2 separate regions of the Homo sapiens genome follow, and region 2 is linked to region 1. Evidence: promoter capture Hi-C in human tissues and cell types (Jung and others, 2019). All regions are on one chromosome and are shown on one strand. The core of a region is centred on a gene start or on the middle of the fragment in contact, and the rest is flanking DNA. Distances in the headings are between cores, read along the strand shown. Region 1 holds the start of ELMO1 (engulfment and cell motility 1). Region 2 overlaps AOAH (acyloxyacyl hydrolase).

Region 1 (4,514 bases), core at 589-3,088:
GGACATTAATGCTTGAAACAACCTTGGAAAGTAGGCATGGAGGTGAGATAATATGAGAACCCTGGCCAGAGGAGACCCCAATAATAGCTGCTGCCGGTTTTTGCAATCTCAAAGTGATTCTGAGAAGGATTATATCCCTCTATGTCCCAAAGTTGCTCGCAGGGTTTTGGTGTGTAAATACAGGTCATTAATTACTTTTATAGAAGCAAAAGAGAAACACTCAGATATTCTTCCATAGCTTCATCCCCAAGTCACTGGCAGCGCCCAACAGGAAGCCTCCGCTTCTGGAGGCCTCAACCCGTCTTAGATTATCTGAAATCTTAACCATAACGAATTAGGCCCGAATCATTCAAGGCCAGCGGTGTTGGGAAGCCCATGATCCAGCGCGGGGGGCATCCCAAATATATTCACTGAGTCTCGGGAGCCGTCCAGGGACTCTCAGAGCTGGGTCACTACCTGGGACCAAGCCTGAGGCTGGTCCTTTAGGTCAAGGCAGGTCCCGACCCGCCTCCAACTTCAAATGGCCCCCTAGGCGGGAGAGGGTCACTGGGCGGGGAGTTCCTGGCTGTGCGGTCACACACACACACACCGACTCACACACACACCCACAACACCCCCCCCACACACACACACTCACACACACACCGACGACACACCACACACACATACATACGCGCGCGCGCACACACCACACACACACACACACACACACACACACACACACGCCGCCTCGCGCGCGCTCGCGGCACAGCACCGACTTCCCAACCCCAAACACACGCGCGCACCCCCGGGACAGCTGAGTTCTGTATTTCCTCTTCCTCAAAGCGACTCCGGCGATCGCAGTCGCCACTCTCCGCTCCGATTCCCGGGCCCCCTGGCATGCCGCCGCCCCCTTCTCTGAAGGCGCGCCCGGTGCGTCCCCTCTCCGAAGCCGAGATTTCCACGAAGCTCCACAAAGCTCCCCGCCGCCTCTCTCGGTCTCGGCGGAGACCCCGGTGTGTCCCCGGGAGGAGAGTATTTACTAACCAGAACCTCAGGGGCTCCCGGCTGCCCAGACCGCCCTCTCCGGCCCTCCTGGCCCCCATTCCTCTGGCCCATCACCGCCCCCTCCCACGAGCGCGCTCGCCGGGGGATTCCCTCCCATCCCCGAGTGCAGGAGAAGACGCCGAGTCTGAGCCGCAGCCGCTTCTCTAGCTCTATAGGAATCTTGACTCCAAGATCCCAGCCCCACATCCCCCGTCCCCAGTAACCCCGCGCCAGCGTCGCAACCCTCCCGCGCCCCCCCTCCCGCAGACCCTGGTCGAAATGTCTCGGCGGGCTCCCGGGCCCCGGGCCCTGCGCTTCATCCGCGGGCGCCGCACCTCCAGCGCCCCCTCCCTCCGCTCCCACTCCCACTCCCGCCATCCCCGGAGCTCAGACTTCCCCAACTGCAGAGCGCCCCGACGCGCCCGCAGCCCTCACCCTGCCGAGCGCGGCGGCCACCCCCGCCCGAGCCGCGGCGCCCCCAGGGAGGAAACAAAAGTGTCTCCGCGGCGCCCGGAGTCCCCCGGAGCAGGACGCCTCCTCCCGGCCCCAGTCCCGGCCCCCTCCCCTGCCGCGCCGAGGTCAGCGAGTCGGGGCGCGGCGCCAGCCCAGGAAACTTTACGAACCTGCTTGGGGTCGCAGGACAGCAGCGGCAAGGGTTCCCGGCGATCAGAGCTCCGGCGACCCGCCACCATTGAAGGGGAACTGGAGGCTCTGTCGCCCAGCGTGGGGCCGCGGCGGCGTGGGTGGCTCTGCCTCTATCCTGTGCCCATCCTCGCCCGCTCCCGCTCGCCCCAGCACACGCACTTACACTCTGGGTCGGCCGGCTGCTGCACCGCCGGCTGCCGCTGCTCTCACTTCCTCTTCCTTCCTCCTGCTGGCCAGAGACACATTTTGCATCTGCAAGGCATCCGGAGATCAGCCGCGAACTCTCCTCCCGAGCGGACGCTGCGGAGTTGCAGCCGCCGCCCCCGGCACCTGCGCCAGGACACTCGTGGTCTGCGCGTTCGCCTTGCGCCCGCACCCTGCCTGGTCCCTGCCCACTGCACTTTGCCTAGGGGGATGCCCACGACTTTTTGAAGTCCCCCTACTTAAAAGACAGAAATGTCAAACACCATGCATGCCTCAGATCTGCTATAAATAATATGTGTGCAGAGCATGACTTCGATGAGCTCACACACGGCGTTTGGAGGCACTAATTAACTCCGTCACCCTCATAGCGCCATCTCCGGGAGGCCAAAAGCGAGTAGCATCTTTTCACATCCTTTTTTAATTTTTGGCAACCGGTTCCGGATATTAAGGGGAAACTTCGGTGGGCTGTTTGAACGCTACTTTAAGACGTGTTTGTTTTGACGCTGTGCCTCTACCCTTGGACAGAGTGGCAAAAAAAAAAAAAAAAAGTTTCCTCCCTCTCCGTCGACATCTATGTATTTACTAACCCTGCAATTGAAACTACAAGATGTATTTCTAACCAATTAAGCCAGGGACTTCCTAATTTTGCATAACTTTGCATAAGGCAAGACGTTCCACCCATAATTTGATATTTAGAATAAATTACTTAATTCATGCAACCTACTTAAATCATTTTCAAAGCAGAAATCAAAAACGTTAACTCCCAGCCTAGCTGGCAGGAGGGAAGAGGGTTGCAGGCGAACCACCTGTCCTCCCCCAGTTCAGAAATACCTACATTGGCTCTACCGGAAAAGTCAAAGGCAGTTCGGCATTTTCTTCTAATTGGCAAAGGAAATAAGTCGGGGGCAGGGAGGCATCAGAATCAAGGTGGAAAACTAAGCTCCCTTTTAAGATCTTCCCCCTCAAGAGCCACAGGCAGCTGTTGAGCACTTGAAATGTGGCTATCCCTGAGATGTTCTGTAAGTGTAAAACAGACATACAATTCAGTATTTTTAAAATGAATGTAAACTAACTTGTTAAGTATGTTTATGTTGATTACATTATTGCAATACATGAGAATAGTCTGATGTAGTAAGTCAGTTGGATTCGTCATGTGTTGGGTTAAGATATAAGCATATATAAGATTAATTTCACCAGTTTCTTTTTACATTTTCTGATGTAGCTACTAGAAAATGTAAGGCTACACATAGGCTCTCATTAGTGGCTCACCTTATACTTTTAATGAACAGCTCTGATCTAACTCCTTATTATACGCATGACTCTGGGAGGCAGTATTAGTATCAAGAGTGCCTGGGTCCAGATGGTTATAAGCCAGTAACTAAAGCAGGGTGACTGCAGGAAAGCAACTTAACTTCTGTATTTCCTCATCTATAAAACAGTAATGATATAATAACAAAAGTCAATAGCACCAACTATTAAATGAAGTAATTTAATAAGTAGTCAGTAAATGGAGCCTTTACTAACGATGCTCTGAGACACTTGTAGTGATAAGTATGAATTTGATCTACAACCTTGTAGCTAAGGCATATAAAGACCTTAACTTTAGTGCATGCGTGGTGAGCACTCAGTAAACATTAGCTGTCATAATTGTTCCCTCCTTGCACAGCAATTATGCAAATCCACTCCCCTGTAACCTTTGGTCCCGGGTCTTCACATCTTTCCTCCATGAAGTAGTCTTTCAGATCTTTGAAGTCAGCCCTCAAATTTTACCTAAACACTCTCTTTTGAGGATTAACCATCCTCAATTATTCTGACTCTTCTTCATGTGACATGGCTTCAAGTCTCTCTCATTTGAGCCATCTTCTCCCAGAAGAATATCTGTCTCTGCCCTTTAAAAAAAAAAAAGAAAAAAGAAAAAAAGAAAAAAAAGTAGTCTTATAGATTAATTACGTAATTAACCATTAGCAAACACAATACAGCCTGAGATCTTCTCTCTCTCTCTCTTTTTTTTTTTTTCTCAAATACATCTCAGTGTTGATAGGAGTGCAAGGGGAAGACTGGAAATTCTTTACAGTGTTACGGTTAGGCCATGTGCGGGAACATGGAGTTGATCTTTGGAACCAAAGTTCCTGATCCACTTTCTCTAAGTCCCTTAGGATTTAATTCAGGCATCCAGTGTCTCCCCATATCCATGGATTACATTAAAATATTAAGATGCCACATGACATCCCACTAAGGAGCTCCCTCTGCTAAGCTGGGAGAATAGCATTCTTTGGTTCACTGGTTATTAATAAACTGCTTAACAGTGCAATTGCCAAACTTCAATTTTCTCTTCTATTCATAAAGACATCTTAGAAGTATTGTCAAGTGTCTTAGAGGAACCCGCCTTCTCCCTCAGCTCTGCTGGTGGTCAGCAATGGATGCAATAAAGTGGAATATGTGGTGTTGTCATGTATGTGGGCTCCATCTTTGGACCTGGTTGTTGTGTATAAATCCCACCATTACCATTTACTGGCTGCATTACTCTTAACTCATGAGATTGAAACCATGTCTGCCAGATACGGTTAAGTGAAGATTAAATGAGTTAATTCATGAAAAATTCTTAACAGGGCCTAACACATAGAAACACTCATTGAATG
Region 2 (4,514 bases), core at 567-3,066, 820 kb before region 1:
ACTTGAAGTCAGGAGTTTGAGACCAGCCTGGCCAACATGGTGAAATTCTGACTTTACTAAAAATACAAACACTACCAAGGTGTGGTGGTGCATGCCTGTAATCCCAGCTACTTGGGAGGCACGAGAAGTACTTGAAACCAGGAGGCAGAGGTTGCAGTGAGTGGAGACCATGCCACTGCACTCCAGTCTGGGGGAACAGAGTGAGACTTGGTCTCAAAAAAGAAAAGAAATTGTGAAATGATGTGTTGTTCATCAAATTAATAATGCATTCAAATGAAATTCAGTCTTGTCTTATTAAAGGAAAGAAATGTGTAGGAAGCAATGTGATGTTAGTGAACATCTGGTTATTCCTAACAATACTTACTGGGAAAACGCTGTATTTGTCTGAATCCACATCTTTGAATGGCACAGACTGTTCCATAGCTCTAGGAAAAAGAAAACAAAACAATCGGTGAGCTAACAAAAAAAGTAACAGTGTTGGTGAAAACAAATAGAGAGACATTTTCTGATACAGCTCTGTTGAGTTTATGCCACAGAGGGCCATTCTAAACAGAAAATTAAGATCCTGTGTGGTGTCAGACAGAGCCAGCAAAACTTTGCCAATCTCTGCTCTTTACCCAACAGAACTGTTTTCTGTCTGATATTAACTTGGCCTGTATGAGGAAGTGAAATAATTGAAGTGAAATTTTAAAGGGCAAGGGGTATTGATGTTGAGATTCCCAGGAAATATGAGACTGCACTTTGAGTTCAGTCAATGAACTCAGCACTACAAATTGAATTTTTGCCATTTTGCACATTGTTATAGAAATCTTTTCTTAAAATTTTACTCTTTTCAATCACTTATCCTGAGAATCTTGACCATTTAGCTGATATTAGCTGGCAACTTTCACTCCCATTCATGAGTCTTGGAAGCCAAGGACCCTGATGTGATGACGAAATAAATTGATGCCAAAGCCATGGACATCCCATGAGGGAGGATTTCCCCTGTGGAATCCTCACCACCAGACTTTTCCCAGCTTCTCAATGTCAAAGACTGCCTTGGGTTTAGAAAATCACTTACACAGTAGCAGAATAATGCAGTCATATGGCAATGAGGCAGGAAAATAGGGTCTGGAGGCAGGAAACATAAGGCCGATTCACACTTCAGCTATAACAGGAAATATCCTCTCCATAGGGCATACGCTGTAAATGACTTTGTAACTTTACTTCATCTTCATCCTCTTCATTTACATAGGGCATACCCCAAGTAGAGGATATTTAAACTCACAAAAACTCTGTAATAGGGCCTTTGAGCCCCTATTCTCAGGCCTGCTTCTACACTGTAGAGTGCACTTTCATTTTCTATAAATCCCTTCATTCCTTCCTTGCTTTGTGCATTTCATCCAATTCTTTGTTCAAGATGCCAAGAACCTGGACACCCTCCACCATTAATGGCAAGATGAGGCTTTCTTTGGAGCCGAGAATTTACAGTGAGTAACACAACCTTTTATAGGAATCACTAAATGGTCTTTTGAATAAAGAGCATCTCAACAGTTCTGAGAACCTCAAGGCAAATAAATGCAACCCAAGACCATGCAGAGCCTAAATGGCAGCCTGGAGCCTGTCTTATGAACTCTGGGATGGGACAGAAGTTCAGCTTACAGGCCTCTTTGGTCAAACACTGGAGGGCACTGTGCTGGTTATATTAGCTTCTATGGCTCTACAGCCTGTATTCTACTCTATACTTTTGGGGCTGGGAATTTTGCAAAATATACTTACCAGGTTCCCTTGGGAACTGGAGCTGGCACTGGTGGCAAGAGAGAGCAGGAGGAGGAGCGGAGAAGTTGGTTTCCCGCTCTGTCTTTCTCTCTCTGGATGTTCCCTTCAGTGACTCTACCTCTAGCCACAGTGGGCCCTCCTGAGGGTCCCAGCACCCGTGGGTGACCCCTTATCCATGGCTCCAGGACTGGCCAACATGGCCTCTTGTTTTGCCCCCAGCAACCCCGCAGCAAGTGGCCTCCCAAGCCTGAGAACACCAACTCCTCCCTTTTGCTTCTTCTGTCCCCCTAGGGATGCTGGTTGCCTCCTGCAGTCCTCATAACCGGGGGGCCTTGCCTTCCTCTTTTTACTGTTTCAGCCTTTTTAGCACTTTTTAAACTGGTACCTTATATTAAATCCTCCTTGCACAGCTCTGTTTCCTGACTGGACCACTGAGAGGAGGACCCTGGGATGAGTGAGTGCTGGTTAGGGTAGGGAAAAGTAGGGAGTGTGGGGAGTCAATAGCCACTTAGTGGACCTAATGAAGAGGGAGCTGCAAGCTGATGTCTCATCACTAGTCCTTCCTACATTCCTGCCCTGGGGGACAGGGGAGGCTGGATCCCTGAAAGGACAAGGCAGCAGGCTCCCTCTTAGTGTCTCCAAGAAGAATTATCCTTTTGAATTCAAGTGCTCTTGCCAGATACTGAGTTGAGCATGGTGGTTCAGTAAAGACTCTGGAGTCAGTTGGAGTCACTGCTCCATCCACCGCTTCCTCACCAGCTCGGCAATTCTCAGAAGTTTATTTAACCTCCCTGAGCCTCATTTTTAAATCTGTAAAATGTGATTCCTGCCAGCTCCCTCACAGGGTTTATTGGGAGGATTAAGGGAAACCACATGAAAAGCCCCCAGTATTGGTCCTCACAAAGTGCTTGCAGCTGTGATTATGAGTGCCTGCTGTCCGAAAGAGGAAATTCACCTCCCCCTTCCATTTGGGGTGGGGTGGGTTGAACAAGGCCAGAGAGAGAGCCACCAGCAGGAAATTAGAAACGTTCTACTTGCTGACTCCACACATCCACACTTACAGGAAAAGTGAGAACCAGCCTTGGGGAAGGTGGAAGATTGTCCAGGAACAGTTCAGGTGTGGGCTGTAGCCAAATTCCACCCCCATGATCACCCACACCTTGATTTTCCCATGGTGGGAGCGGAGGGGAATGAAGCTTCCCGAGTGGGCTCAGAGGCTGTGACGCTGCTCTCCCTTATGCAGGAGAGAAGCTAGGGCAAGATCATCCTTGGGATCCTTCCTGCTCTGATGCTCCAGGGTTTCTAGATCCACCCCATCCCTTGTCTACTCTGAACTACAAATGGTTTTCTCTCACTTTAATCATCTGTCAAGAAATGCGGAAAAAGCTTGGACCAAATGACTTGCAGTCATCCAACATCAGCTGTGACTCTTAAGAAAAGTTTTGGAAAAGGCTTTGAAGGTCACATTTTCTGTGAGACTAGGCAGTTTTCCCCATGTATGTATTTGGCCTCTTGGACAGCGTGTATTTTTCTAGTTGAGAAAAGGAAGATAAAGAAAGAGAGCAAGAGCAAGAGACAAAGACAGACAGATCAACAGAGAGAGAGAGAGAGAAAGAGACAGAAATGACGTAGACCCAAACAGCCATATTTTCAGCCTGAGAAAGAAAAAGGAGCTGCAGGAAAGGTCCCGTTTGGGCATGTGCCAAAGCTATCCCCTCCCACCTTTGTTATCTTGGGGGTGAGAGTTTGTCCTTGAAAGAAGGAACAAAGAGTGGTCTTTAAGATTGGAAAGCTGATTTATTAACCTTTGTCTGCTTACTTTAAAGGCCCCAAGTGACTGGCCAAAGCCATGCATTCTAGACATGAGTGGGTAGACTGGGTACTCAGAGTAGCATAAATTGCAACTTGTGTAATCTCCACAATCCCTTCTTCACAGCCCACTAATCAAAATTTTTTTCAACTTAGCAACAACTTCATTTGGTAGCAAAACTTGACCTGAACTGATATAGGGCAATTCGTAAGCTTTATCATACTTAGTGTGAAAATTCATATATTTCACTCTGAAATATAAATGTGATTGATCAAGAGGTGCCAGGGATAGCAGGTGGGTTATGGTATATGCATTATTGATTATTTTACTAGAATATAAAAAACCTGAATTTCAAATCATATCTGGCTCCAAGGCTTCTTGTTTGTTTGTTTTTGTGTTTGTTTTTATAGAGACGGGGTCTTGCTCTGTTGCCCAGGCTGGTCTTTAGCTCCTGACCTTAAGTGGTTGTTCCACTCTGGTCTCCCAAAATGGTGAGATTACAGGCATGAGGCAATGTGCCCGGCAACTCCAAGGTTTTGAATAAGACATTGTTGACTTTACTAAAAATTATTTCTGCAGAATTGCATCTGAACTTGATACCTTATGTATCCTTAGAAATATCTAGCTGTATGTTGAAATGTTCATTCATTCATTCCTTCATTCCACAGGCATTTTGGGAGTCCCTGCTGTGTGCTGGGAATCATATTAGATACCAGAGATGAGTACAAGATACAGTTCCTACAGTTCCTGCAATTTAGGAGCTTGACATGGGTAAGGAAATTAATGCATCAAAAGATAACTATAGTCCTGGGTGAAAAATGCTGTAAGCGGGTTGTGCATGTAGAGAGGAAAAAAACGTTTCTAACTCTGTATAGCAGAAGAAGTGATCTTAAGGTGAAAGCTAAAGGATGAGACAGCATTTTCAAGGCAAGCAATTGGACTGAGG

What was found. The method cuts DNA at HindIII sites, captures the fragments that hold promoters and counts their contacts. A contact is called where the count stands out against the background at its distance.
Region 2: a contact is called between a fragment that was not itself captured here and the fragment with the promoter of ELMO1 in region 1, in 1 of the 25 tissues and cell types used here (lymphoblastoid cells).

The regions. Positions count from the first base shown.
Region 1 is chr7:37,447,026-37,451,539 of GRCh38, forward strand. It overlaps ELMO1 (engulfment and cell motility 1), which reads right to left and starts at 1,839. Exons shown (of 22, transcript NM_014800.11): 1 at 1,650-1,839. RefSeq lists silencers at 1,479-1,528, 1,539-1,588. The HindIII fragment of the contact is 6,371 bases long and covers 1-4,514 here.
Region 2 is chr7:36,622,826-36,627,339 of GRCh38, forward strand. It overlaps AOAH (acyloxyacyl hydrolase), which reads right to left. Exons shown (of 21, transcript NM_001637.4): 7 at 365-425. Among named protein-coding and RNA genes, the nearest start is that of AOAH-IT1, 25 kb to the left of the region's middle. The HindIII fragment of the contact is 3,291 bases long and covers 172-3,462 here.